7 separate regions of the Homo sapiens genome follow, and all the other regions are linked to region 1. Evidence: promoter capture Hi-C in 16 types of primary human blood cells and fetal thymus (Javierre and others, 2016). All regions are on one chromosome and are shown on one strand. The core of a region is centred on a gene start or on the middle of the fragment in contact, and the rest is flanking DNA. Distances in the headings are between cores, read along the strand shown.

What was found. Contacts are between HindIII fragments. The CHiCAGO score rates a contact against its expected background, and 5 or more counts as called.
Region 2: a contact is called between a fragment that was not itself captured here and the fragment with the promoter of NAA35 in region 1, in 5 of 17 cell types (naive B cells, naive CD8 T cells, total B cells and 2 more). The highest score is 7.1, in naive B cells.
Region 3: a contact is called between a fragment that was not itself captured here and the fragment with the promoter of NAA35 in region 1, in 2 of 17 cell types (total B cells and non-activated CD4 T cells). The highest score is 6.0, in total B cells.
Region 4: a contact is called between a fragment that was not itself captured here and the fragment with the promoter of NAA35 in region 1, in 1 of 17 cell types (total B cells). The highest score is 7.3, in total B cells.
Region 5: a fragment that was not itself captured here is called in contact with the fragment with the promoter of NAA35 in region 1 in 1 of 17 cell types (M0 macrophages); the score reaches 5.2 in M0 macrophages.
Region 6: a contact is called between the fragment with the promoter of DAPK1 here and the fragment with the promoter of NAA35 in region 1, in 2 of 17 cell types (fetal thymus and monocytes). The highest score is 6.0, in fetal thymus.
Region 7: a contact is called between a fragment that was not itself captured here and the fragment with the promoter of NAA35 in region 1, in 1 of 17 cell types (non-activated CD4 T cells). The highest score is 5.3, in non-activated CD4 T cells.

What each region holds. Positions count from the first base shown.
Region 1 is chr9:85,939,437-85,943,231 of GRCh38, forward strand. NAA35 (N-alpha-acetyltransferase 35, NatC auxiliary subunit) reads left to right here and starts at 1,710. Exons shown (of 23, transcript NM_024635.4): 1 at 1,710-1,837; 2 at 2,719-2,847. The coding sequence starts at 2,724. RefSeq lists a silencer at 1,614-2,293. The HindIII fragment of the contact is 5,629 bases long and covers 1-2,734 here.
Region 2 is chr9:83,942,428-83,946,222 of GRCh38, forward strand. It overlaps QNG1 (Q-nucleotide N-glycosylase 1), which reads right to left. Exons shown (of 4, transcript NM_032307.5): 3 at 2,367-2,562. Among named protein-coding and RNA genes, the nearest start is that of QNG1, 12 kb to the right of the region's middle. The HindIII fragment of the contact is 512 bases long and covers 1,863-2,374 here.
Region 3 is chr9:84,286,589-84,290,383 of GRCh38, forward strand. It overlaps SLC28A3 (solute carrier family 28 member 3), which reads right to left. Exons shown (of 18, transcript NM_001199633.2): 11 at 3,566-3,691; 12 at 1,460-1,590. SLC28A3-AS1 (SLC28A3 regulatory antisense RNA 1) reads left to right here. Exons shown (of 2, transcript XR_001746802.1): 2 at 3,352-3,548. Among named protein-coding and RNA genes, the nearest start is that of SLC28A3-AS1, 10 kb to the left of the region's middle. The HindIII fragment of the contact is 4,681 bases long and covers 1-3,795 here.
Region 4 is chr9:84,315,048-84,318,842 of GRCh38, forward strand. The region is part of intron 1 of SLC28A3 (solute carrier family 28 member 3); the gene reads right to left. Among named protein-coding and RNA genes, the nearest start is that of SLC28A3, 24 kb to the right of the region's middle. The HindIII fragment of the contact is 1,015 bases long and covers 1,288-2,302 here.
Region 5 is chr9:84,335,114-84,338,908 of GRCh38, forward strand. All of the region lies in intron 1 of SLC28A3 (solute carrier family 28 member 3), which reads right to left. Among named protein-coding and RNA genes, the nearest start is that of SLC28A3, 3.7 kb to the right of the region's middle. The HindIII fragment of the contact is 3,398 bases long and covers 15-3,412 here.
Region 6 is chr9:87,496,219-87,500,013 of GRCh38, forward strand. DAPK1 (death associated protein kinase 1) reads left to right here and starts at 1,649. Exons shown (of 26, transcript NM_004938.4): 1 at 1,649-1,889; 2 at 2,752-2,921. The coding sequence starts at 2,860. RefSeq lists silencers at 1,298-1,357, 1,378-1,727, 2,098-2,287, 2,498-2,607 and an enhancer at 1,998-2,755. The HindIII fragment of the contact is 10,886 bases long and covers 1-3,795 here.
Region 7 is chr9:86,940,447-86,944,241 of GRCh38, forward strand. No RefSeq gene overlaps it. Among named protein-coding and RNA genes, the nearest start is that of GAS1, 5.2 kb to the right of the region's middle. RefSeq lists an enhancer at 275-975. The HindIII fragment of the contact is 2,634 bases long and covers 420-3,053 here.

The sequences.
Region 1 (3,795 bases), core at 460-2,959:
TCAAATCAAGCTCTATCCAACTTAGTCTCTTCTTGAGCCCTGAGCAGCCACTAATCTGTCTTCTGTCACTATAGATGTCTTTTAAGAGCCTGGGGTCTCACTTGGGGAATCATACTCTTGCATTTGATTTCTTACTCTGTCGCCCAGGTTGGAGTGCAATGGCACCATCTCGGGTCACAGCAACCTCTGCCTCCTGAGTTCAAGGGATTCCCCTGTCTCAGCCTCCCAAGTGGCTGGGATTACAGGCGCACGCCACCATGCCTGGCTAATTTTTTTGTATTTTTAGTAGAGACAGGATTTCACCATATTGGTCAGGCTAGTCTCCAACCCGACCTCTCCACTGCCAGCCTCCCAAAGTGTTGGGATTACACGCATGAGCTACCAGCTACCAAGCTCAGCCTGATTTCTTTTACTCAATATATTTTTGAAATTCATTCATGTTGTATGTCAAGTAGTTTATCCCTGTTTATTGATAATTACATTCATTACATTGTATGGATATGCCACAAATTGTTTTTATTCAACAGTTGATGGACATTTGGGTTGTCTGTAGTTTTTGATGATTAAAAACAAAGCTGGGCCAGGCACGGTGGCTCATACCTGTAATCCCAGCACTCTGGGAGGCTGAGGTGGGCAGATCACGAGGTCAGGAGTTTGAGATCAGCCTGACCAACATGGTGAAACCCCATCTCTACTAAAAATACAAAAAACAGCCTGGTGTGGGGGCAGGCGCCTGTAATCCCAGCTACTCGGGAGACTGAGGCACGAGAATTGCTTGAACCTGAAAGGCAGAGGTTGCAATGAGCCGAGATCAGGTCACTGCACTCTAGCAGGGGCGACAAGAGTGACACTCTGTCTCAAACAAAAACAAAAACAAAGCAAAACAAAGCTGGTATGAACATTAACGTACAAGCCTTTGTATGAATATGTTTTTGTTCCTAAGTAAATTCGTAGATTACTGGATCGAATGATAAGTATATGATTATAAGGAGAGATTGTTAAGTTTTCCAAAGTGGTTGTACCATTTTGCATTACCACCACCAACATAACAGAGGTCCAGTTGCTCTGCATCCTTGCCAACATTTGGTATTATCTTTTCCATCTTTTAATTTTGGGCCATCCTAAAGAACAGGTGGTGATAAAGATGTGCTTCTTACCTGCGCCCGTCTATTTATGTAACCCCATTTAAAAACTGATCATTTTATTAATAAATTAAAAAAATCTAAAACATATAAGAATCTGAAATTAAATGTCTGGCTTGACTTTGCAGATATTTTGAATCTATGTTTCCTCACGAAACTCCCAGGCGCTGTATAGGAAACATAAATCCGTTGTCAGGCAGCAGTAGCACGCTGTTGCTCTCGGAGCTTGGCTGCTCGTTCGTGCTCGCAACCACTAAGGTCTACGCAAACCTCCACGGTTTCCTTCCGCCTTCGCGTCACCTTTCTAAGAAATTCCCAGAGGGCAGCGCAGACGGGGCGGGCTCTGAGACTCCGGGCTCCGCCTCTTTCCGGGAACCGCCCACTACCCAGGACTCCGACAGAGGGTGAAAAAAGATAACTTCCGGTCTCGCGATCGTCTCTAATCTCGCGAGAAGAGAAGGCGGCCGCCATCGGCCGAACGGAGGCGGTGGCGAGGGAGGGGGTGTGGCCGGGGAGCGCGAAGTCCCCGGGAGTAAGGGAGAGGGGGCGGGGTCGCGCGTCCCGGGCATACGCATGCGTGCACGCTGCCGGTCGGGCTGGGCTGAGAGGGGAGGGGGCGGCGGCGGCCGAGGCGGCGTCGTTATTTCCGTGGTCCGGACAGTGCGTGGCGGCGCGGGTGACCACGGGAGAAGTAGGTAGGGACCGCCCCTGCGTAGCCATTGAAACCCTCTCGCTCGTGTGTCCGAGAGCCGCAGCCCCCCGCGCGTGTGGCAGATCCTGGGGACCCCAGGTCACCCTGCGGCCCCGGCCCTCCCGCTGCGCGTCAGGTAGGAGCGGCGGGCTCCCCAGTGCCCGCTGTCGGCCGAGGCCCCACTCTTGCCCGGTGTTGCCGAGGCGACGACCCGGCGCCGGACGTGCCCGCCCTCCCGCGCGGCGACAGCTCTGTCCTTGCTTATGCGCCCAGTGGGACCGGGGCTGGGCTGGGCTGACCCGGGCAGGGCGGAAGGGAAGCGTGTGCCCGCCTCAGGTGTGCCTCGGCCCTAGGCCCGGCCGGCGGGACCCTGCGGTGCCTGCCGGCTCCTCATTGCTCCCGGCGAGGTTCTGCCTGGGTCCGGGCCGGCTCTGGCCCGGGAGAGGTCCCAGCGAGCTCTGGCCAGATGAAGGGCTACCTTGATTGACTTCGGTAGCTGCCGCATGGGGTCCTGGGCTGCGAGAGGGGACCCTGAATAGTGCCTTGGTCTTTTGTGGCTATTATTGAAAGTTGGAAGCTCTGGAGTTGTTCTTTTCGGGCCAGAGGTGAGATGGTTTGTGATTTTTCTTCTTAAACAGTAGGAAGGCAAAATGTTTATGGGCCCTGGTAGGTGGTGGGCTAATAGTAAGCAGCAGGAGTGTTAATTGACGTGCGATTTGATTGCATTAAGGTTATTCTTTGCAGTACTGTCCTTAGACTCAGAAGAGTTCTGCTTTAAAGAGTTTAGTTAAGACTTCATCCTATGCTGAAACAAACACCCATTTCTGCAAATACTCTTGCCCTGAAAGCTACATCCTCTCTCTTACATCAGTATTAATTTTACAGGCATAATGGTTATGAAAGCTTCTGTAGATGATGACGATTCAGGATGGGAGCTCAGTATGCCAGAAAAAATGGAGAAAAGCAATACAAACTGGGTGGACATTACCCAAGATTTTGAAGAAGCTTGTCGAGGTGAGTCTGATTTTTGGATTAGAAGTTCAGCATCTGGAAGGGGTAGAATGACGATTGTGCTTTCTAAACTTACCTCATTAGATGAAATCAACAGGTAAATGTGGTTTGTTGAGTTTGTTAGCCACACTTATTCTGTATCCTCTAATTTTAACTTTAAAGCAAATGTATATTTGATACAGCATTAAATACAGATGTTGAGGCAGTATTTTAAAATTGAATTTTTCTTGCTTTAACAGGTTAGAGAGAGCAGTAATTTCTAACTGTGGAAAACACTTTGTTAATCTAAAAGATAATAGTATTTTTGTATGTTTGAGGTTTCAGTATGATCAGATCACATCATTCCTTGTTTAAGATTGTCCAGTGGCTTCCTGTTGCAGGTAGAATAAAATCCACCCTCCTTCCCTATGGGTCTATAAAATCTGGTCCCTGCCTGCCACTCAGGTTTCATTTATGTGCCACTGTCCCCGCCAGGCTTATTACATTCCAGTCACAGGTCTTTTTTATCTCTTCGTAATACACACCAAGGTGGTTCTCCCAGGTGTTTGCATTTTTTGTTTTCTTTCTTTTAAATTGCTTTGCCCCTCGCTTTCACACAATTCTTCTTAAGTGTTAACCTCCCTGGTGAGGACCTCAAAACAACCACTCATTCTCTCCTCTGCAATTCCACCTCAGTTGAATCACTTTTTATTTTCTTCATACAGCTTATCTTTTTCAGAAGCCATAATTGTCAATTATTTCTTGTTTATTTTCAGTCTCACTCACTGGAATATAAGCTCCGTGGGGGCAGAGATAATTTCTGTAACCCTAGTATACAGAACAGTTCCTGGCACATAGTAAATTCAATAAATAGGAGTAAATGATTGGAGAAATGAACATGCTTGTTGCTTGAGGGGAAAGAGTCTAGGGAGAGACTGAAGATAAGAGAAAGGAACAAATTAACTAGAGTGA
Region 2 (3,795 bases), core at 869-3,368, 2.0 Mb before region 1:
CAGTGGACAGAAATCTAAGTGGCACTTCCAAGGGTTGTCCCTGAGATACCCAGATGAGGGGAGAAGGGAAAGAATATAAATGTAGCAAATCCTCAAGTTTGGAAGTACCATTGGAAGCCAGTTAAGGAAGGTCCTACCTCACCTGGTCAAATTAAGCTGGTCCTAGATTTCACTTAAGGTAGTTTTTAAAAATGAGTACACTATACTTATGTTTGTTACATTACATTTACAGTTTGTTTATTTTTGGTCTAGTTTTGCAGTAACATACCTTTTGGAAAACAAAATCCAAATTTTACTTAAATGCACTAAGTGGCAAAAGAATTTGTCCACCCTGTATCAAACTAGCTACGGATAGGAGAGTACCCTTTTAGAAGCAAGGCATAAATGGAGGCAGTAATGAGTGCCAGTGGATATTGGAAAAGAGCCTCTGGAGTTGAAATGGATGGGAGAAGAAAATTCTGACATCTCTGTACAACTATGCTGGATGATCCCTTCTCACTAGGGTTTTTCTCATAGTAGCAGAGACAATTAAGTGCCATAAAAACTGAGAAGGAGATGGACAAATCACTATAAGTGAGGACAGCATTTGAGTGAAGCCTCTGTGATGTATAGGATTTGAATTGAAAAAAAGAAGCTGGGCGTGGTGGCTCACGCCTGTAATCCCAGCACTTTGGGAGGCTGAGGAGGGTGGATCATGAGGTCAGGAGTTCAAGACCAGCATGACCAGTGTGGTGAAACCCCGTCTCTACTCAAAATACAAAAATTAGCCAGGCATCGTGGCATGCGCCTGTAATCCCAACTACTCAGGAGGCCGAGGCAGGAGAATGGCTTGAACCTGGGAGGCGGAGGTTCTGGTGAGCCGAGATCACGCCACCACACTCCAGCTTGGGCAACAGAGCGTCTCAAAAAAAAAAAAAAAAAAAAAAAAAAAGAAAGAACACTGGACGATGGAAACCACGTAAGAGAATACTCAGAGACAGGAATGAACAGTGTGTACAAAACAAAAAAAAAGCAGCTTAATATGGCCATATGAAAAATAAGCCCTGATTGCTAAATGTTGTCCCTTTTAAAGGTATCCAACAATTAGTGACCCTTGACATGGGCATGATGACAAAAAATAGCATGTTCTTTTTCAAATGAGGAAATGGAAGACAAAACAGATTGCCCATGGCAGCATAAAAACCCAGTAGAGCCAACCATAGGAATAATGGTACCTTTATATTCTGTGTTATTCTGATCTGGGGGATTCAAATCTATTTCACAAGAGGAAATTATTCAATCATAGAATCTACTTCTTTTAAAAAAATACATAAGGCCGGGGTGGTGGCTCACACCTGTAATCCCAGCACTTTGGGAGGCCGAGGTGGGTGGATCACAAGGTCAGGAGATCGAGACCATCCTGGCTAACACGGTGAAACCCCGTTTCTGCTAAAAATACAAAAAATTAGCTAGGTGTGGTGGCGGGCGCCTGTAGTCCCAGCTACTCGGGAGGCTGAGGCAGGAGAATGGCCTGAACCTGGGAGGCGGAGCTTGCAGTGAGCCAATATCGCACCACTGCACTCTAGCCTGGGCAACAGAGTGAGACTCCGTCTCAAACAAACAAACATAAAGAGGCCAGGTGCAGTGGCTCACGCCTGTAATCCCAGCACTTTGGAAGGCTGAAGTGAGAAGACTGCTTAAGCCCAGGAATTCAAGACCAACCTGGGCAACATATTTTTTAAATAAAATAAAATAAAGAAAAAAGTAGCAGAAAATTTTGCACCTAAAAGAGAAATTAACATGAAAATCATATAATTATTTTCCTCATACAAGGAAATGTTATAAGCTAATTTTCACACAAACTTTTCAACCCAATTTACCTAAGCTTATATATCATAAGGCTCCTAGTCTTGATATCAATAATCATATCCAATAATGGCGAATAAGCCTAAGGAAGTGAGTGACTTGTGCAAGATATCCCAGTGCAGACCTTGGAGTCTCTTCACTCAAAAGCCAATTCATATTACCTATCTTTCAACCTACCTTCATATAACCATGTAGTGTGCTCTTCAGCTTAACACTCTTCAAATACTATAACTGATGAACTATCAGTGTTACATACTTTCATGTAACATAAATTTAGGTTTCATTAGGCTATGAAATTATAATGTTCAAATAGCACAATTTTCTACAATATCCACATTTCACAGTGTAAACAAAAAGAAAAATCATTTTCTCTACATTTTGTCTTTGCATTTTCCTTTTTACATATACTATGAACAATAAATAGTACTTTTTTTTTAAAGCAAAGGAGACCTTTTGTAAAAGAAACTAAACCGAGATCCAACAATTCATAGTATAACAAAGAATGACTTAAAGTTGCAAACCTTTGAGAAGCTTCTTCAGTAGGTCATCAGAGTATTTCAGGGCTCCAAGATGAGCAAGAACCTGAGGTAATCTATAATCAGCAAACATGGTGATACTGGAGATGTCCTTGAAGCAGCCATCTCCTTTTCCTTCCAATACACTCCACGTATCTGCTACAAGGATTTGGGCTCGTTTGTAAAAAGAAACTCTTTTCCCCTGATGAATGAAGAGAATATAAACGTTATTTGAGTATCTGAAAGCTTTATATATGCTATTTTTTAAAGGTGCAGTTGAAACATTTTTTAAAAGGCAGAATAATCTTACTTTGTTGGTAAGAATTTATAGATTGGCCGGGCACCATGGCTCCCGCCTGTAATCCCAGCACTTTGGGAGGCTGAGGTGGGCAGATTGCTTGAGCCCAGGAGTTCAAGACCAGCCTGTGAAACATGGCATAACTCCAACTCTACAAAAAAAAAAAATTAGCTGGGCGTGGTGGCACACATCTATGGTCCCAGATACTCAGGAGGTGAGGTGGGAGAATCGCATGAGCCTGGGAGGTCAAGCCTGCAGTGAACTGTGATCACACCACTGCACTCCAGCCTGGGTTACAGAGGGAGACCCTGTCTCAAAAAAAAAAAAAAAAAATTCATAGATCTTTTACAAGAAACAAAAGGATTTAATGAACATTAAATTTTCTATCACTCCAAACTCGCTTCCCATTTTTCAAGGCACATAAAATACAATTTATGTAATCTTGATACTACTTACTATTCTTTTTCAATGGCATTACTTCATATACAGATTTCTGCAATATAATCCTAGGGCTTATTATTATTATTATTTTTTGAGACGGAGTCTTGCTCTGTCGCCCAGGCTGGAGTGCAGTGGTGCAATCTCGGCTCACTGCAAGCTCCGCCTCCTGGGTTCACGCCATTCTCCTGCCTCAGCCTCCCGAGTAGCTGGGACTACGGGCGCCGTCACCACGCCCGGCTAATTTTTTGAATTTTTTTAGAAGAGACGGGGTTTCACTGTGTTAGCCGGGATGGTCTCGATCTCCTGACCTTGTGATCTGCCCGCTTCGGCCTCCCAAAGTGCCGAGATTACAGGTGTAAGCCACCGTGCCTGGCCCAAGGGCTTATTATTTTAAATGTGTAGATAGCATTCCTTTTGAAAGTTTCTTAAATTAAAACACGTCTGTTTTTCTGATTGCAATATAATTCACATTAATTGTATAATATACAGCCAAGTATAGGCCAGGCATGGTGGCTCACGCCTGTAATCCCAGCACTTTGGGAGACTGAGACAGGAGGATCACGAGGTCAGGAGTTCGAGACCAGCCTGGCCCATATGGTAATACCCCGTCTGTACTAAAAATACAAAAATTAGCTGGGTGTGGTGGCGATCGCCTGTAGTCTCAGCTACTCAGGAGGCTGAGGTAGAAGAATTGCT
Region 3 (3,795 bases), core at 326-2,825, 1.7 Mb before region 1:
TTTATAATAAAAAATTGGAAAATGATAAAAAATTACAAGTTTAAAAATTATTTTTATTACAAGTAGCTGCCAGAGAATAGTTATAAAATACAAATGGTATAAAAGCTAATGATTCAAAACCAACAACAAACCAATGATCCAAGGAAGCCTGTAAATCCATCACCTCATTTAAAAATGGAGTGCCACCATCACTTTGAATCCCCCTGTGTACTCTTCTTTGATCTCATCCTCCCCTCTAATCTCAGAGGTATCTGTCTTCCTGAAATTCACTCATCATCCCCTTTCTATACAGTTTTCCTACATGTCTGTATTCCCTAAAAAATACATTGTGTGTCCGGGTGCAGTGGCTCACACCCTATAATCCCAGCACTTTGGGAAGCCGAGGCAGGTAGATTGCTTGAGCCCAGGAGTTTGAGACCAGTCTGGACAACATGGTGAAATACTGTCGCTACAAAAAGTACAAAAATTAGCTGGGTGTGGTGCTGCGTGCCTGTAGTCCTAGCTACTCAAGGGGCTGAGGTGGGAGGATCACTTGAGCTCAGCCTGGGTGACAGAGTGAGACCCTGTCAAAACAAACAAACAAACAAACAAAAAAACAACATTGTGCAAGTCTGCACACTGAGTAACTTTACAAGTGGAATTACGCTGTATTCTTTGGTAACTTGCTTTTTCGCTCATGGTTGACTTTATCTACATACAAGTATGGGTGAATTTCAGACACATGTTGGTTGCTGATGAATTCTGTTATTTAATGAAATACTCTTGAACACCCTAAATCCCTTAGTCTTTTCCACTCTGTTTTTTTTTCTTTTTCACAGAGCAAAAGAAAAGGAACCAGCTTTCTTATAGGAGGAACCTCCAGAAATGGTCATCCTATGGCTTTCTGTCTAAACCAAGGCTCCATAAACACTCTGCTATATTTATAAAGAAATATCTTTACAACAAACAGATATGGAAATGTATTGACATTAGGTATTTAGAGAGGTTTATGTCAAGTATTAAACAAGATTTTGGCCAGGTCCCAGCACTTTGGGAGGCTGAGGCAGGAGGAGCCCTTGAGCCCAGGAGCTGGAGATCAGCCTGGGCAACATAGTGAGACCCTGTTTCTAAAAAAAATTAGCTGAGAGTGGTGGTGCATGCCTGTAGTATCAGCTACTTAAGAGGCTGAGGTGGGAGGATAACTTGAGCCTGGGATGTTGAGGCTGCAGTGAGCTGTGTTCATACCACTGCACTCCAGCTTGAGTGACAGAGCAACTTTAAAAAAGTCTTTTTTGAGCAAGACTCAAAAAAAGGAAATAAAATAAGACTTTTTTCTGTGAAGTCTAAATAGTCTTTGGACTAACTTTAATATTGTAATTCACTGTGCTTTCCGGTTATCAAATTTTTGCTGTACATTGACTCCTGGAGTCCCCCGCCCCGGCTTGGGTAGTCATTAATTAGGTGAATGTGTCACACTTACCCACTTTCCATTTTCATGGCATTCTTGAGGGTTATTTTAGGTTTTTCTGTCTCAGGCCAAAAGAGTTTAGCAGCAGCCAATGACGCAGGTGCTGACATAACTGACGCTGTTAACAAGTGGGAGGATGGAACCTGCAATTTCAGAAGAAAGAAGGCAAACCTGGGATTAGCTTTTTTCTTGTGTTCAGAGGAAGGGTCCAAGAGCTCCGCAAGGGAAGAAACAGGGCAGGGGTTGTTTCTATTCCAGAAGACAATGTTTCTTTGGAGGTCTGGAAGAGCCACTCTAGCTCATTGAGCCAAGTCGCGGGCATCACCTTGAGAGGCTGAGGGATAAGGGAGACATTTGTGCTAATTGACCACATCCCTGGGGAGAAGCATAAAACCAAAATCTGATCGTTTCAGAAAAGAATTAATCCTGTGTTGTGGAAACTTTCAAGGAAGATTCCTCTACCTCTCTGTTGCCCTTTTGAATGTTCAGAGAGCCCCTAAAGCATGTATGTCATTACAACTTTTTTTTTTTTGAGATGGAGTCTTGCTCCGTCACCCAGGAGTGCAGTGGTGCGATCTTGGCTCCCTGCAACCTCCGCCTCCCTGGTCAAGCGATTCTCCTGCTTCAGCTTCTTGAGTAGCTGGGATTACAGGAGCCCACCACCACACCTAGCTAATTTTTGTATCTTTTAGTAGAGATGGGGTTTCAACCATGTTGGCCAGGCTGGTCTTGAACTCCCAACCTCAGGTGATCTGCCTGCCTTGGTCCCTCAAAGTGCTGGGATTACAGGCATGAGCCACCATGCCCAGCCTCATTACATCATTTTAGATAGGGGATGGGGAGGGGATGGGGAGTGGAGAAGGGACTCATGATTCATGTGCAGATGTGTATATTCTCCTCTCTCCATCTTCCTTTTGCTCTCCTGAGGTCCTTGGTGCCTTTACACAATCTTCATTGATCTGGTGGCCCTTTAATCTGTACACGACTTCTGTTTTCTTTATTGCAGGTCCACTCGTTCCCCTTCCTACCTGCCCTCACATGGTTTCTGGATTCTCTTCCACATATTTTCAGAATTCCAGGATCAACACCTCCCTCCCTGTTCCTGTTCCCCCCAGAACATTTTTGAGGCAGCATTTCTACAGTGGGGATGGCATTCCCCAGATGATCCACTCAAGCTGCTCCACAGGTGTCCTTTGCTCCTTTCTTCTTGCCTCTTCCTACTAATTGGCACTCCGAGGCCTGGATGAAGACCTACAATGAAGCCCACTTATTTTGTAAGAAATCCTAGTCTCCTGAGTCACACAGTGACTGGGCTGTGTTACTCAGTTTCAATATTGGGGACTGTGTCTATGTGTGGCTTGTAAGCTCTATGGGTCGGGGTGCACGCACCAGTTATAACATTCTCTAGCCTTATACTACAGACTGCCAACTCTCAAACTTGGCTGTACATTAGAATCTGAGAGTTTTAAAAAATATTGATGGCTGGGTCTCATCCCAAGGAACTGTAGTTTAATTACTCTGAGATATGGACCTGGGCATTAGAGAATTTAAAAGCTCCCAGGTGATTCTAACGTGCAGAAAGGTTTGAGAATCACTGCTCTAGACCAGGGGTCAGAAAAGTTTTTCTGTAAAGGGCCAGAGAATAAATATTGTTGTCTTTGTGGATCACAACGACTCAACTCTGTAGCATGAAAGCTGCCAGAGACAAATGAATAGAAGTAGTTGCTTTCCAATAATTCATTTCCAAAAACAGGAGCAATTGGGATTTGGCCCATGGGCCATAGTTTACTGACTCCCAGTCCAGATCACCTTGACTGATGTAATAATTTTTTTTTTAACAGATTTAAATTTTCAACCAAAGCAACTTTATCATATGATTGCATTTTTCTGTTTTTATTCTGCAGATAGAACTCACATTTAGGCAGCAGGTATATGAAGCCCTGAAACTCCTTGGGATCCCTATGTTCAAATGCCAAAGCAACTGTGACCAACTTTTGCCATATGGCAAAAAAAGACACTCTCTTGGCCTCCTTTTTCCACCAGCAATGGAAAAGAAAAGAAATAACAATAATAAAGAAAGAAGAGGTTGGTGTTTTCATAATTCCAAAACATTCTTACCCCAAAAGAAATGTATGCACCTAGCACGCTTCCAGCAATGGTAGAGAACCCGGCGGTCATGATGGCGTGGAGTTCAGACTTGGTGATGTAAGGTAAATATGGTCGGACCAGCAGTGGAGACTCCGTCTGGAGACAAAGAAGGGTGACCAGATTCCTTTTTAAATCTGTGTGGGGGCAGGGGAAGGCATGCCAATCTACTCACAATTTTATTCTTTAAAGCAGACAGTTTC
Region 4 (3,795 bases), core at 545-3,044, 1.6 Mb before region 1:
CAGCCTGGGCGACAGAGCGAGACTCAGTCTCAAAAAACAAACAAACAAACAGCATGAAAAGAAAAAATATACATAGTATGGGAAGATGACAGAATGTTGCTAATTGCTGAAGTTGGCTGACAGGTACCCGGAGAATCATTTTATTATTCTCCTACTTTGGTGGATGCTAAAATGTTCCTTAATACTAAGTTAAAAATAAAACCAAACATGAATTGGTGGAGTAACAGAACACAGGTCACTGAGGGGCTAGTCCTTAGGGTCCCTACTGAGCAGGCCACATTCTCTCAAGCCTTAACTCCCTCATTCATACAACACAGTTTGGATTTGGGGTTCTTGCGGATCCTTACGGAATCCTGACATTTTCTAATTCTATTAGGAGATTCAGCTTCTTGACGTTGATTCCTCCTGCCACCTGGTGGCAGGATCTGAAAACTACTGGTGGAACACGGGTGGATCCTACGTTTTTAAAGTTAATGAAAGTGGAAGGTGTGTGTGTTGAGGGATAGAGTGGGCACTCCTTTAAGTGGCAACAAGAGCACGTGTGGTTTTGTTCTCCACTGTGTAATAGTCTTATTTGGCCCCCAACAGAGTATACGCCTTGGCCTTTTAGTATTTTCTGGAAGAACAATATCTCCCACTTGAGGATTTCCAACAGAATTAGTGGGGTTATTGTGGATATTGACTGGTACCTGGAAAATGACCATTAAGACAACTGTCTTTCTTCTTCTTTTTAAATTAGAGTCGTGGGGCTGTGATATGGGGCCCCAGATAATGTCTTAGCTCAATGTTTCTTTCCATTTATTTAGCAACTCACATTACTAAATACCTTTGCACACTTAACGCCCTACAACCACGACTGCGTTCTCATGGTAAAATCTATCCCTCTGTTGAATGTGTAAGAAAGGTGAGGGAATTGCATTGTGAGTATGTCTAGGCCGTTTACAGCTTACACATTTAATTTCTCTAGTTAGTTTTAGTTGTTAGGTGTGCTAAAAGATGAGGGTCCTGATTGAGCCCCCTTTGAAGGGACAGCCTAGTAACCAGGAGTACATTGTGCCTGGGGTTTGTTTCCCACCATTTCTTTGATCTTGCACTTTCTATGTGGCTATTAGAGGGAGGCAGAGATGGACAGAGGCATTTTTATTTTCTTCCTTTCATTCACTTTCTAAACCATATAATAACTTCTAGAACACTGGAAATTTCTAAAATGACTCCCCTATTTGTGGTATCCCTTTTCAAAGAATGTTAGCTGACACATGGTCACCTAGGAAAAAGATTACATATCCAAGCTTCCCTTGCAACTAAGTTCTGGCAACGAAATGAAAGTAGAAAGGGTGCCCTGTTGGGGGCAGCTCGGGGAATGTTCCGCCAGGGATGGCTGGCAGGTGCACTTGTTCCTTTTTGTCATTTCCTCTGTCTTGCTGCCCAGTGTGAGGATGGTTCCAACTGGACCATGGATACAAGGCCCACATCCTTGTGATGTCAGGGTGCTGAGTTGGGAGGAACTTGGGTCCCTGGAAGCCTTGAGCAGGAGGCTCACCCCGGCTCTGTACCATCCACCTCAACTTTATTGGGATGAAACTAACTTTTCTCTTGTTACTTTTGGTTTTTGCTTTTATTTTGCACCAAATGATACAGTATTTAGTAGGCAGGAGACACTGTGTAAAACTCTTGTCTGGGCGTGGTGGCTTATGCCTGTAATCCCAGCACATTGGGAGGCCAAGGCGGGCGGATGATGAGGTCAGGTGTTCGAGACCAGCCTGGCCAATATGGTAACACCTCGTCTCTACTAAAAATACAAAAGTTAGCTGGGCGTGGTGGCGGGCACCTGTAGTCCCAGCTACTTGGGAGGCTGAGGCAGAAGAATCGCTTGAACCAGGGAAGTGGAGGTTGCAATGAGCCAAGATCGTACCAGTGCACTCCAGCCCGGGCGACAGAGCAAGACTCCGTCTCAAAACAACAACAACAACAACAACAACAACAACTCCAAGAGGCCTATGAGGTGGGTACCATGATCCACATTTTCACAGATGAGGAAACTGAGGCAAAGATAAGTAAATCACTTGACTTGGGTTGTGTAGCCAGAAATGGCTGGGGTAGAATCTCAGCCCAGACTGTCCCTCCCCAGACCATCTTGTGCCTATAGAGGAGTGATTCTTTGGGCCTGGTGAAGATCAAAAGACACAGTAGTGTGCCTAGGAATTAAATTCCGTTTGGAAATTAGAACTTAGAAAGCCTGATTTGAACTCCAGATATTAAAAGACAAAGGTATAAATTATAGAAGTGTTGAAAGTTCCAGAGAAGCTTGTGGCCACTTTTAGCTACACCTAGGCTCTGTGGTCATTTCTCAAGCCACAATAGTGGTCTTCCTGCCCTGTACGCTGGTTTTAAGTGGAATATATCCTTTGAGTAACATGGGTGGGGACTCCTGCCTCTGTGGACATGTCTTGTCATCATGGCTGGTTTGACATTCTTCAGCCTCTCCCTGGCACTGTGCTGTAATCACACAGCCTGGCTTCCATTTCTCAGTTCTTGTGGTGGGGGTTTTTCTGCTGCAGAGGTACCACCACTGTGCTAGGAGAGCCTTTCTTCACTATAGAATTTGCTCTGGCCTGGTTGCCAGAGCAAATTGCATGAGTGGTCTTGCACTCATTCAGTGGTCTTGCTTCTTGTGGGAATGGAGGCAGTACCTACCTAACAAAGTTGGGTGGCTCCATCCAGTGGCACACATAGTAAGTGCTCATTGACTATTAAGTTAATTTCATGGTTTAGTTTGCTTCTCGCTTGTTCTGGGGCATTTACAGTCGTGTTGTCCTCTGTATTTGAAATTAGACTTATCAAAATCAACATCTGTTTGGTGAATCTGATCTCTCAAAATTGTTTGGGATCATACCCCACTTCAACTCTTTTTTTACTCTTACCATCTACCAATGTCAAATGTTTTAAGGCCCTTTCTCTAAATGTTATTCTTCGACTGCATGGATTTTGCCTAGGAATGATTGCATTTTCAAAGACTGTATTTTAGAAGTCCTTGATCGTTATCTATTGGTCTTGACTCACTTGGTTCATGTAACTTTCTGGCTCAAGTCTCGGGTGTGCATAATCCTTAGTGTGAGTTAATGGGCACTAGCTAGACCATTCCCCAGAGATGTTCTTGTTTTACCTGCCTGCCTGTGTGGGTTTAGAGGCCAGGTAAGGAGCAGCAGTACCTGTGGCAAGAGACCCAGTGGGCAGCCTGGGGCTCACTGTTACCTTTCAATGCTGAGGGATCTTTGGATTGGGTGCAAGAAGTCAAGTCTCTGTATGCTGCTGTGAGTGGCTGTAACACTAGCAATGTCTATGGCTTCAGAACACTGTTAACATTCTTCCCTTGGGAACTTTGTGAGCCAGGAGGCAGAGGAAACCCATATGTATGGGAATGTCAGGGAAAGGGGAAAGAGAGGGAGTGCTGTACCCGAAGGAGAAAACTTAAAGGAAGGTTTATAATAAGAGTTTTAAGAAAGTTTAAACATGTGAGTCCTCATAGAATATGGTTTCCAGGCCGGGCGTGGTGACTCACCCCTGTAATCCCAGCACTTTGGAAGGCTGAGGAGGTTGGATCGCCTGAGGTCAGGAGTTTGAGATCAGCCTGACCAATATGATGAAACCCCATCTCTACTAAAAATACAAAAATTAGCCGGGCGTGGTGGCCTGTGCCTGTAATCCCAGCTACTCGGGAGGGTGAGACAGGAGAATCTCTTGAATCTGGGAGGCGGAGGTTGCAGTGAGCTGAGATTGTGCCATTGCACTCCAGCC
Region 5 (3,795 bases), core at 464-2,963, 1.6 Mb before region 1:
GAACGTATGCTACAAGCTTCCTACTTCATCTACCCCTTCATGAAGATGCCTGGAGTCAACTTAATTTCAACCAACAGGCCTCAAAGAGAACTCACTCTCTTTTTTGCTCTAACTTTATTCCTAGATTTTCTACCTAAATAAAGCCTTGCCCGAGGCTGGGTGAGGTGGCTCACACCTGTAATCTCAGCACTTTGGGAAACCCAGGAAGAGATGGGAGGATCACTAGAGGCCAGCCTGGGCAACATAGCAAGACCCTGTCTCTACAAATATAAAAAATAAAAAAACTTAGCCAGTTGTGGTAGCACGTGCCTGTAGTCCCAGCTACTCAGGAGGCTGAGGTCAAAGGATTGCCTGGGCTCAGGAGTTTGAGGCTGCAATAAGCTATGATTGTGCCACTGCACTTCAGCGTGGGTGACAGAGTGAAGCCCTGTCTCTATTTAAAACAACAGCAATAAATAAACAAAGGGAATCACTTCCAAGTTGACATCCCAAGCTGGAAACATTGACTCCACACTTTCCTTAAGCTGCTCAGCATCAAAAGCTGCTATTGTTATGTTCATACTATGTGCCAGGCACTGTTTTCACAAGTATGTATATACGTGTGTGTGTGTGTGTGTGTGTGTGTGTGTGTATAAAATGTCCATTATACATATATAATATTAGCTTATTTAATTATTTCAACAATCCCAAGATAGGTACCATTATTATGCTCTTTTACAGAGGAGAAAACAGAAATCTTCAGAGCCAGAGCAGCATTTAGGCCCTCATCTTTACTCCTGAATTTCATTGTGGAGGGGTCACCTCATCAGTATTAGTACCTCCGTCCCAGTGTCTGCATCCACTGCCTTTAGCCTGGTTTGGATTATGACAGTAACTTCCCAACGGATGTCCCAGCCACACACAAATCCCTCTCCTTTTCCAAGCACTTTCAATGGGGCCACCAAAGTAATATTAAAAAAAAAAAAATCAGCCTGGTGCAGTTGGCTCACACCTGTAATCCCAGCACTTTGGAAGGCTGAAGCAGGCAGATCACTTGAGCTCAGGAGTTTGAGATCAGCCTGGGCAACATGGTGAAACCCGATTTCTACAAAAAAATACAAGAATTAGGTCGGGCACGGTGGCTCACGCCTGTAATCCCAGCACTTTGGGAGGCTGAGGCAGGCGGATCATTTGAGGTCAGGAGTTTGAGACCAGCCTGACCAACGTTGTGAAACCCTGTCTCTACTAAAAATACAAAAAAAGTAGCCAGGTGTGGTGGCATATGCCTGTAAACTCAGCTACTCAGGAGGCTGAGACAGGAGAATTGCTTGAACCCAGGAGGTGGAGGTTGCAGTGAGCCAAGATCATGCCACTGCACTCCAGTCTGGGCGACAGGGTGAGACTTCATCTCTAAAACACAAAACAAAACAAAGACTAGCCAAGTGTGGTGGCGCATGTCTGTAGTCCTAGCTACTCAGGAGGCTGAGGTGGGAGGATTGCTTGAGCCTGGGAGGTTGAGGCTGCAGTGAGCTGAGATCATACCATAGCACTCCAGCATGGGTGACAGAGTGAGACCCTGTCTCAAAAAAAAAATCACAATTTGACTGCGTAAATTCTGAGCGATTCCTTCTAAAATGCCTTAGCACACGCAGAGGCCACCTGACCTGATGCCAGCCTGCCCCCTTTCCCTATACCGTGTTCCCTTCCTCCATCCCAGGCTCATGTGCTCTTCTCCTTTAGGGTTCTGAGTCTGTACAGATAGTTCTCTCTGCTTGCAGTGCTCTGCCCACCCCACCTCCTACTGTGACCTGACCATCCTTAAAGCCCTAATCAAATTCTCCCTCCTTTGGTGATGCTGTCACAGACTCCTCAGTCAGCTCAGCTCCAGCTATATATTATTTACAATGCACTTGGTGCTGGCTGGGTGTTGTGGCTCATGACTGTAATCCCAGCACTTTGGAAGGCCAAAGCAGGAGGATTGCTTGAGGCCAGGGTTTCAGACCAGCCCTGGTAAGATAGCAAGACAAAATATAAAAAATAATAAATATAAGAATACAATGCACTTGGTGCAAACCTCCGCCATTTTCCTTAACATCAATTATATTGTAATTGCATGCTTATTTCTGCCTGTCCTTCTCCTTGAGGGCAAGAAGAGCATATTATTCTTTCTTGAGTTGGTATCCCTTCTTAGAGGCGGCCATATCTAGGGGGCAGTTGATGATTCTACTGAATAAATAGAAATAACCCAGTCACTGTTTTTAGGTGTGGGTGTTGTTGGTATGATACTCTGCTGGGTTTGAGATGCCCTGCTTAGAACCTTGAGGCCTGGGGATGCTAGCCTGTGTGTGTGCGCGCGCGTGTGTGTATGCGTATGTGGGTGTGAGTGTTTGCACACGTGTGTGTGTGTACTTTGTCCTTTCAGGCAGTTATTTTTCCTGAACTGATGGGAACATCTTGCACAAAATCAAGAGCCAGTTTGCTGACTGTTTTAAGGTTTAAAAAATATTTTAAAATAAAATAAGAAATCCTTAGATATTCCACATACACGCAATACTTTAAATGCCAATCCGAACTTCCTTCATAAATAGCAAACGTCTTATTTGCAACTACTGTTGAATGAAGTCATTTCCATCCTCAGCCATATGAGAAATAAGTTCCTTATTCATAGAAAACGTTTAGAGGTACAATAAAATGAGATTAGAAAAAAAAAACCCTAACATTCATTTCTATCGTTGGTTACAAAATCCACTCTCATGTATGAAGTGTGCTCTAGCTGTGAAATCCTTTCTTGGAGGTGAGATCATTTCTCTCTTATAACCCATATCACTGACTTTGTGCTCCTGTTTAACCTTTCCCACTGGAGTACTAGCTCCATGAAAACAGCAATTGGTGCTCCCTTCTTTGAGGAACAGTCCAGATGAGAGCCTGTCCAGGTAATCCATAGATATGCATAACCATTGCACCTGCACCAGGTCTTACAGGCACAGGCCTTTTGGGAACCCATATCAGCATTTCAAGCTGTGAAAGTAGTTCTACTTAGTAAAATTAGAACTTTGGTCTACCAAGGGCACTCTTAATATTTGAAGAAGAAAAATGAATTTCTAGCACAATTCACAGACTAGGACAAGGTGAATAAGTAAGCATCCTAACTTATTTGGAAGTCCTGGTGGCATGTTAATGCATATTTAATAATGCGAGTGAAGTAGCACATATTTTACAATCAATTAATTTTCCTTAAAGAAGATAATGTAGCAGGAGAGCTGAATGTCAAACAAGGTAAGACTCATACTTATTAACTTGGCAGGAGTTATGAGGCCTCTGATTCTCTTGAAAGACAAATTGTCTTCACTATTTTGATTTTGAAATGTAGAAATTCAAATTTCAATCAATCCAATGAGTAAGGATGACAGGAAATTTTACAGAACTAGGAGGAAGCTTCCTTTCATTTTTCCTTCTTTTTATTGGGGCAGGTGTAGGGGGATGTTTCCCCCACAAAACAGCAGTTTTGCTAGAAGACAGTGAGGGATCACCACCGTTGTGTGCCCTCCTCCCTGGGAGCAGCCAGTTGCTGTGACATGGACCTTCTCTATTGCAGATATATTTTCTTGCTGCCATACTTCCTCTGACTCTATCCAATTCCATCCTTTCCATTCTCTGGAATCAGAATGGGCCCATGCTTTATGCTTTTCCCCCTCACTTAGCCCTTAGAGAAGAGATCAGGATGTGCCACCCTCCAAATGCCCACATTTTGGCACAAGAATATTTTGAACTGAAGGCTATGAAAAAGAAAGCAGACACAGAAAGAGCTCTCTGCCC
Region 6 (3,795 bases), core at 399-2,898, 1.6 Mb after region 1:
ACTAGGATTTGACATAAGGCCTGAGGGGTATTCTTTTGTTTTGTTTTGCCTTGTTTTCAAGAGGCCAAAATCTTCACAGTTGAAAATTTCTGTTGAACCACAGAGATTTGAACCAACTCAGTTTAGAAAGCCTGGGGATTTGAACAACGGTATGGATCGGAAATCTCTTCATCTGTCAGTTTTCATCATTCTAGGCAGTAAAATAGATTTCCCTTTAGGAGCTTTTCACCGTTTGGGGTTCTCCAGCAGTGGGATGTGGGGAATCAACCCTTCTTCGTCTCCACCCAAACATTAGGTGGGAGCAAGGGGTGGGAAGTAGAGAAAGTGGATAGAGGTCTCCAGTGGATATGGGATCTTTGTGTAGACCAGCACAGTCCTCAGAAATCTCATGCAAGCAACATAGGTACTGTTATATTTTCTAGTGGCCACCTTTTAAAAAGTAAACAGGTGAGGCCGGGCGCGGTGGCTCACGCCTGTAATCCCAGCACTTTGGGAGGCCCAGGCGGGCGGATCACGAGGTCAAGAGATGGAGACCATCCTGGTCGACACGGTGAAACCCCGTCTCTACTAAAAATACAAAAATTAGCTGGGCATGGTGACGCGCGACTGTAGTCCTAGCTACTGGGGAGGCCGAGGCAGGAGAATCACTTGAACCCTGGAGGTGGAGGTTGCCACGCTCCACTACACTCCAGCCTGGCGACAGAGTGAGACTCCGTCTCAAAAAAAAGAAAGTAAACAGGTGAAATTAATTTTAATAATATATTTTGTTTAACCCAACGTATCCAAAATACTATCATTTGAAAGTGTAATGAATATAAAAATATTCATGAGATATTTTTCATTCTCATATCCATACTGTCTTGGACTCTAATGTGTATTTTACACTTACAGCACAATTAATTTGGGACTAGCTACATTTCAGCTCAACAATAGCCAATAGCATATGGGATAGCGCAAATAAACTCTGCGTCTCTGTTGCTTCTTTGGGTCTCGGAGACCTCAACCCTTTCTTCAGATTGCAAACCTTCTTGCCTTCAAGCCTCGGCTCCAACACCAGTCCGGCAGAGGAACCCAGTCTAATGAGGTACGCTCCCTTCCTGCCATTCTCTATTCCATTAACCTGTTTCGTGGTAAACGTAGGACTGATCCTCCAAAATTACCTTATTAATTAGCTTACATATTTATTATCTATCTGTCCCACCAGAATGCAGGTTTCCGGAAGGCAGGGATTTAAAAAAATCTGTTTTGTTCTATGTGATTTTCCCATACCAAGCACCGTGCCCGGCACAAGCTGGGATCCCAGTACACATCTCGGGACGGAAGAACCGTGTTTCCCTAGAACCCAGTCAGAGGGCAGCTTAGCAATGTGTCACAGGTGGGGCGCCCGCGTTCCGGGCGGACGCACTGGCTCCCCGGCCGGCGTGGGTGTGGGGCGAGTGGGTGTGTGCGGGGTGTGCGCGGTAGAGCGCGCCAGCGAGCCCGGAGCGCGGAGCTGGGAGGAGCAGCGAGCGCCGCGCAGAACCCGCAGCGCCGGCCTGGCAGGGCAGCTCGGAGGTGGGTGGGCCGCGCCGCCAGCCCGCTTGCAGGGTCCCCATTGGCCGCCTGCCGGCCGCCCTCCGCCCAAAAGGCGGCAAGGAGCCGAGAGGCTGCTTCGGAGTGTGAGGAGGACAGCCGGACCGAGCCAACGCCGGGGACTTTGTTCCCTCCGCGGAGGGGACTCGGCAACTCGCAGCGGCAGGGTCTGGGGCCGGCGCCTGGGAGGGATCTGCGCCCCCCACTCACTCCCTAGCTGTGTTCCCGCCGCCGCCCCGGCTAGTCTCCGGCGCTGGCGCCTATGGTCGGCCTCCGACAGCGCTCCGGAGGGACCGGGGGAGCTCCCAGGCGCCCGGGTGAGTAGCCAGGCGCGGCTCCCCGGTCCCCCCGACCCCCGGCGCCAGCTTTTGCTTTCCCAGCCAGGGCGCGGTGGGGTTTGTCCGGGCAGTGCCTCGAGCAACTGGGAAGGCCAAGGCGGAGGGAAACTTGGCTTCGGGGAGAAGTGCGATCGCAGCCGGGAGGCTTCCCCAGCCCCGCGGGCCGGGTGAGAACAGGTGGCGCCGGCCCGACCAGGCGCTTTGTGTCGGGGCGCGAGGATCTGGAGCGAACTGCTGCGCCTCGGTGGGCCGCTCCCTTCCCTCCCTTGCTCCCCCGGGCGGCCGCACGCCGGGTCGGCCGGGTAACGGAGAGGGAGTCGCCAGGAATGTGGCTCTGGGGACTGCCTCGCTCGGGGAAGGGGAGAGGGTGGCCACGGTGTTAGGAGAGGCGCGGGAGCCGAGAGGTGGCGCGGGGGTGCCACCGTTGCCGCAGGCTGGAGAGAGATTGCTCCCAGTGAGGCGCGTACCGTCTGGGCGAGGGCTTCATTCTTCCGCGGCGTCCCTGGAGGTGGGAAAGCTGGGTGGGCATGTGTGCAGAGAAAGGGGAGGCGGGGAGGCCAGTCACTTCCGGAGCCGGTTCTGATCCCAACAGACCGCCCAGCGTTTGGGGACGCCGACCTCGGGGTGCCGTGGTGCCCGGCCCCACGCGCGCGCGGGGCTGAGGGGTCGGGGGCGTCCCTGGCCGCCCAGCTTTAACAAAGGGTGCTCCTCTCCACCCCGCGAGGAGGGGCAGCTCCGGAGACCCGGTCTTCAGCGAGCGGGGTCTTAGCGCCGGGGAGGTCTACTTCCTTTTGGGGTTGCCATTTTACTATTATTATTGCCTTTTTTTTTTCTTCAAAAGGACTGGAGACTGATGCATGAGGGGGCTACGGAGGCGCAGGAGCGGTGGTGATGGTCTGGGAAGCGGAGCTGAAGTGCCCTGGGCTTTGGTGAGGCGTGACAGTTTATCATGACCGTGTTCAGGCAGGAAAACGTGGATGATTACTACGACACCGGCGAGGAACTTGGCAGGTAAAGGGGGTACCAGAAGCGTACCCTCCTGGATTGTGGAAATGCATAACGATGGGGCCATTGGGTGGTAAACAAATGCAGTTTGAATCAGGCGTCTCCCTCGCCCTTTCTGGAGATGCGCAAATCATAGAGAAAAGAGTTACTAACCCAGCGGTAAACCGCCTGATCCAAGGGCCTGGGGGTGGAGGAGAGGCAGCAGTTCAGGGCTAGATTATGATGCACAGTATATTGATCCAGTCCCCTGGACAAAATCAGATTTAATTGTCCGTGCTAACTCTTGTCAGCCCTTGCCCTTCTGTGACAACAGGACAAACACTAAGATTATAATTGCAATTGGAGTTAGCTTTTATGTGTGATTTAAACGGAGGGTACAAACTAATTAATAGGTTTTAAAAATCTTAGTACTTTACCCTCTATCTAAATTTTCAGTGTAATTTGAGCAAGTATTGGTAGGTGGTAAATGGAGACTTGCCAGATGTTGACATTGGGCTTGGATTTTGAAACTTCTTCCAACCAGGAATTTAATTACCTGGTTGGTGTTGGTGGTTGCTTTGGTTTCATTTACAATGTTAAATTTTTAACAAATCAATGAGAGTCTAATATGGCTATCTGGATTCAGAGCATACCTCCATTGCTGTAGCAGCTGTGATTCTCAGTGTAAAATCTTTCAGTTTCTAGGTAAACAAAGAATAGTTTCTTTCGGGGCATCTAAGGGCTGATTGCTGTTTCCTTTGACTGTGTATTAGACAGAGTGTTTTGGGCTCTGGTCAACTTTAGTAGAAAACCTAGTTTTCATACATACATTTAAAACTGAATTTATGGAATTTGACTGTGGTGTATTTACATTGTGAGTGGAGTAGGCAAAAGGATCTTT
Region 7 (3,795 bases), core at 487-2,986, 1.0 Mb after region 1:
AAAATTTAAATAAAAGATAAACTTGTAAGGACACATACTGATAACCAGAGAACATAAAGTTGTCTATAATAGCATTTTATTTTTTATTACAGATTGAAGATGTCCTTGACAACATTGTGTAGATGCTATCTGTGTGCTTAAGGAGAACATGCTATAGATAATTATAGTATATACCAGCACCATTGAGAGTAGCTGTCTTTGATCAACTTTATAAAATTGAACTCTTAGAACAACAAAATCAGTAAAGTATTGTTTTGGTGAATACCGTATCAAAAACCATAGACATTTGATTTTATTATGGAACCCATGCTCCTGAAATAAGTGGAGAAAACACTTTCTGCATCTCAGCAGCCCTTCGGGATTCTCTTGCATGCATATTACACAGGGTTTGAAGGTAGCCCTCCAAAATATTAGCTGAAAGCTTCCTCGGAAAGCAAATCTTTCCCACATCCTTCCCTGCAGTTCCTCTTTAAGAGGTGTCAGCATGGCTGAAAGAATGAAGTGGCTGCACATTGTTTGGCTGTGCTATTATGTGCTTAACATTTCCATAACAAAAGTGCCACTCGACTTCTCCCCGATTAATGCAGCTCGAGGGCTCTTGTCGTCCTTTAATAAAACATTGTTGAAATCATTTATTTAGAGCCCCTGGTTACTAGTGGGAGAATGACCATCTTTGTGCCAAAATATAGTGTATACAGTCCACTATTTTGTAGTAGATCATTCTGTTATTTAAGAAATTGATTAAATTGATGCTTAGAAGGAAGGTATTTATGCTAATAGCACATGACTTATGTCATTCAGATAGTCAAGGGTGAACCTTTTCCACTGTCTTCCAGAGGCAATCTCTCAAATAGACTACAGTAAAGTCCAACTTTACTTCACTCACAAGGCAACGAGACCCACTGGAAACTCAACCCTCCTTAACTACATTGGCCACAAGGCATTTGCAACCTGATGCCCTCCCACAACCTTGCTTTGAGTAGCTGGGAGAAACAGGGTCAATTGGCAAGAGTTCTGATGTCCCTTGGTGTAAGAGGTCAAAACACAAATAACGCAGGCTTTTCTTTTTATGGGTTGAAAAGAGATACATGAGGTTATTTTGTTAGAGAGCCTCCACAATGAACTCAACAAGCTAACAATGCAAAGCCAAAGTTTAAAAGTAGACAAAATTTTAATACAATGTTTGAGGTTTCTGAAAGTCCTCATTGTATTTTGGGGATCTATTTTTATTTGATTCTCTGTAACATTGCTGGGATGGGGTGAGGGTGTCAATACAGATGGTGGCAAGGAACAGAGAAAGCTCACTCCCATGAGGGTTCTCCTGACTCTTCAAGGCAGAGAGATGGAAAGATTCTGTCTTCACTCACAGGGACCCCATCTGGAGAATGGCGGTGCACCCTAGATGTGTTAGAGCCTGGTGGTCCCTTAAATTTGTGGCAGTCAGGGCCAGGAGCTGTGTCCATCCTTCTAGACATTTGAAGCGTTGCTGTCCAAGTACAGAGAAGTCCTGCTACTTAGTAGAAGAACTTATTTCCCTACAGACACGTTTCCACTTTACATACGTGTATTGCTCACGTACATAGCTATATATTGTTTAAAATAAACAGGGACCTTATGTTATGTCCATTGTGATTATATACAAAAGCGTTGCTGTGTGCTCGGGTGAGCAGTGAAGCCTGAACCTCCTTCTATTTACTGTATGGTCACTGTCAGTTCAATGAACTGCCTCCTTGTTCTCGACCATTGTCCCACACTCCCTTAAACATTTGTCACTGAAGTGCCTCCAAAGACAAATAAACTGTCACTGAGAATTCAAACCTGCTAACTGGGGAAATGGGAAAGGCCGTGAGGACTCATGATTTTACATGAAATCTAGAAGGAGTTCCTCTCACTCTGGCAGAGTTCTGTTAGAAGGGTGATGCTTTTTGAGAATCCCCAGGAAAAGCCAGAGATACCTTTTCTTTCATTAATGGGACTTCCAGCCATTCTCCATGGGACATTTGAGATGGCCAAATGTCCAAAATTCCAAAAGGCTCCCCAGAGAGCGTGAGATATTACAGATGTCAACATCTGTAAAAATCCTTTCTGCTTAGAAGCAGATGGCAATATGCAATCTCATAACCACTAGCCAAAGGGTTCTAACATCTCAACAACCTCCGCTAGGTCTGTAGGGGTACCAGAGGACTCCTGGGCTCCAGTGTATAATTGTTTAAATTAAAATGGACCACCAATCAATGTTCACTTTCTTTAAGGAAGAAAACATAAAGCCTCGTGTCCTCTCTCCCCAAGAGCGAGTTGTGTTGATTTATTCCAGGCAGATGCTTTTGACAGGACCCTGTAAAATCAAGTTGTGAGTTTATTGTAGCAGTTAATTATCAGGCCTTTTCTAGTGCTAATGCCTTTTACTTCTTACTGGGGAAAACTGGGCCTTTTACTGGGACAAAGACTTAACTTTTAGTCAAGCATGTGTTAAAATAACATGAGATGGAGATGATTTAAATATATTTAAGGACAAACGCAGGAGCACTGCTAACTTGTCGTTTTGTAAAGAAAGCTGATTTCATTTACAAGTCTCTGGGAATACTCTTTGTTCGCTTCCCAAAGAAACAACGCTCTCAGCTTTGTTTTAACAATATGTTTACTCAACCATTCAGGTGACTGGAGATTCCAACCACACACCACTCTCCTGGGCTTAAGTCTGACACTACAGCTATCTTAGACTTTCTAATACTATACATATAGAAATCGTGGTTTTAGGTGCACCAAGAAGTGTCTTGAATACCTCCATAAAAGCTGGGAAAAGAGCGAGTTAGAAGCACAAGAAACCTTGAAAAGTAGGGGGGTGGGAGTGGGTATGAGGAAGTCAGAATGGGGGCATAGCTTCGTTAATTACTTTAGGCAGCAGAGAAATCTGGTTATGTTTTTTCAGCACATGTTAATATCAAATAAAGAGACACCAGATCTTGCTAATCTGTCGACCCCTCAGACAAAGTTTATTTGTGGTGACTTTTAAACTCCCGACTTGCCTTCCAATCACCGCGTTTAAAATGAAAAGCTTTAAACAAACACCAGGAATAGAAGATAAATAAACTTTTTTTCCCCCTTGCAAGTGCCTAGCTTGGCGAGGTTCAGGCTCAAATCCCTAGAGGACAGAGCGCTCTCTTTTGTGTTAATGTTTAAAAGATTTTCCAATGCCGGAGTTTATTCCTACTGCAAACATTTCTATTTACAAGGTCAAGTGTATCAGCACTCGACACAGCTTAAGAGTGTAATTATTTATCTAAGGGCGTTTGAGTGTAGATCAGTAGCTCTGGCAGGAACCCAGCCTTCAGCCACTGCTAAACAACTCCTCACAACAATATTACAAGTTCTGGTGATTGTTCCTTTCCCCTGTGTGTTTACTTTTGCTGGTCTGAATGTTTTGCAACAAAATTTTGTACTTTTTCACCAAAAGTGTGAAAATGACTTTGAAGTATTGAGCTTGCAAGCTTCCTAAAACCTATTGGTAACAGATGTTATTGGCATGTTTGATTGAGAATGGCTAGTAGCCAGAGAGGATACTCTTGGGGGTAAGGGGTGATGGGAAGGGGGATACAAAGAGGGGAGGTCTCAGGGGAAAAGGGGGAGGCGGGGCAACATGTCTGAGTTATCCTCAAATTATGTACAGGAGACACTATTTTGTGAATTCTCTCCACAAATGCAAACACCAATAGAAGCCAGTCAATTACATATTTTTGGCTGCCTCATTTACAGATGTCTAATTGTTCATTAAATTAAAGGCAGAAATAATTTCTT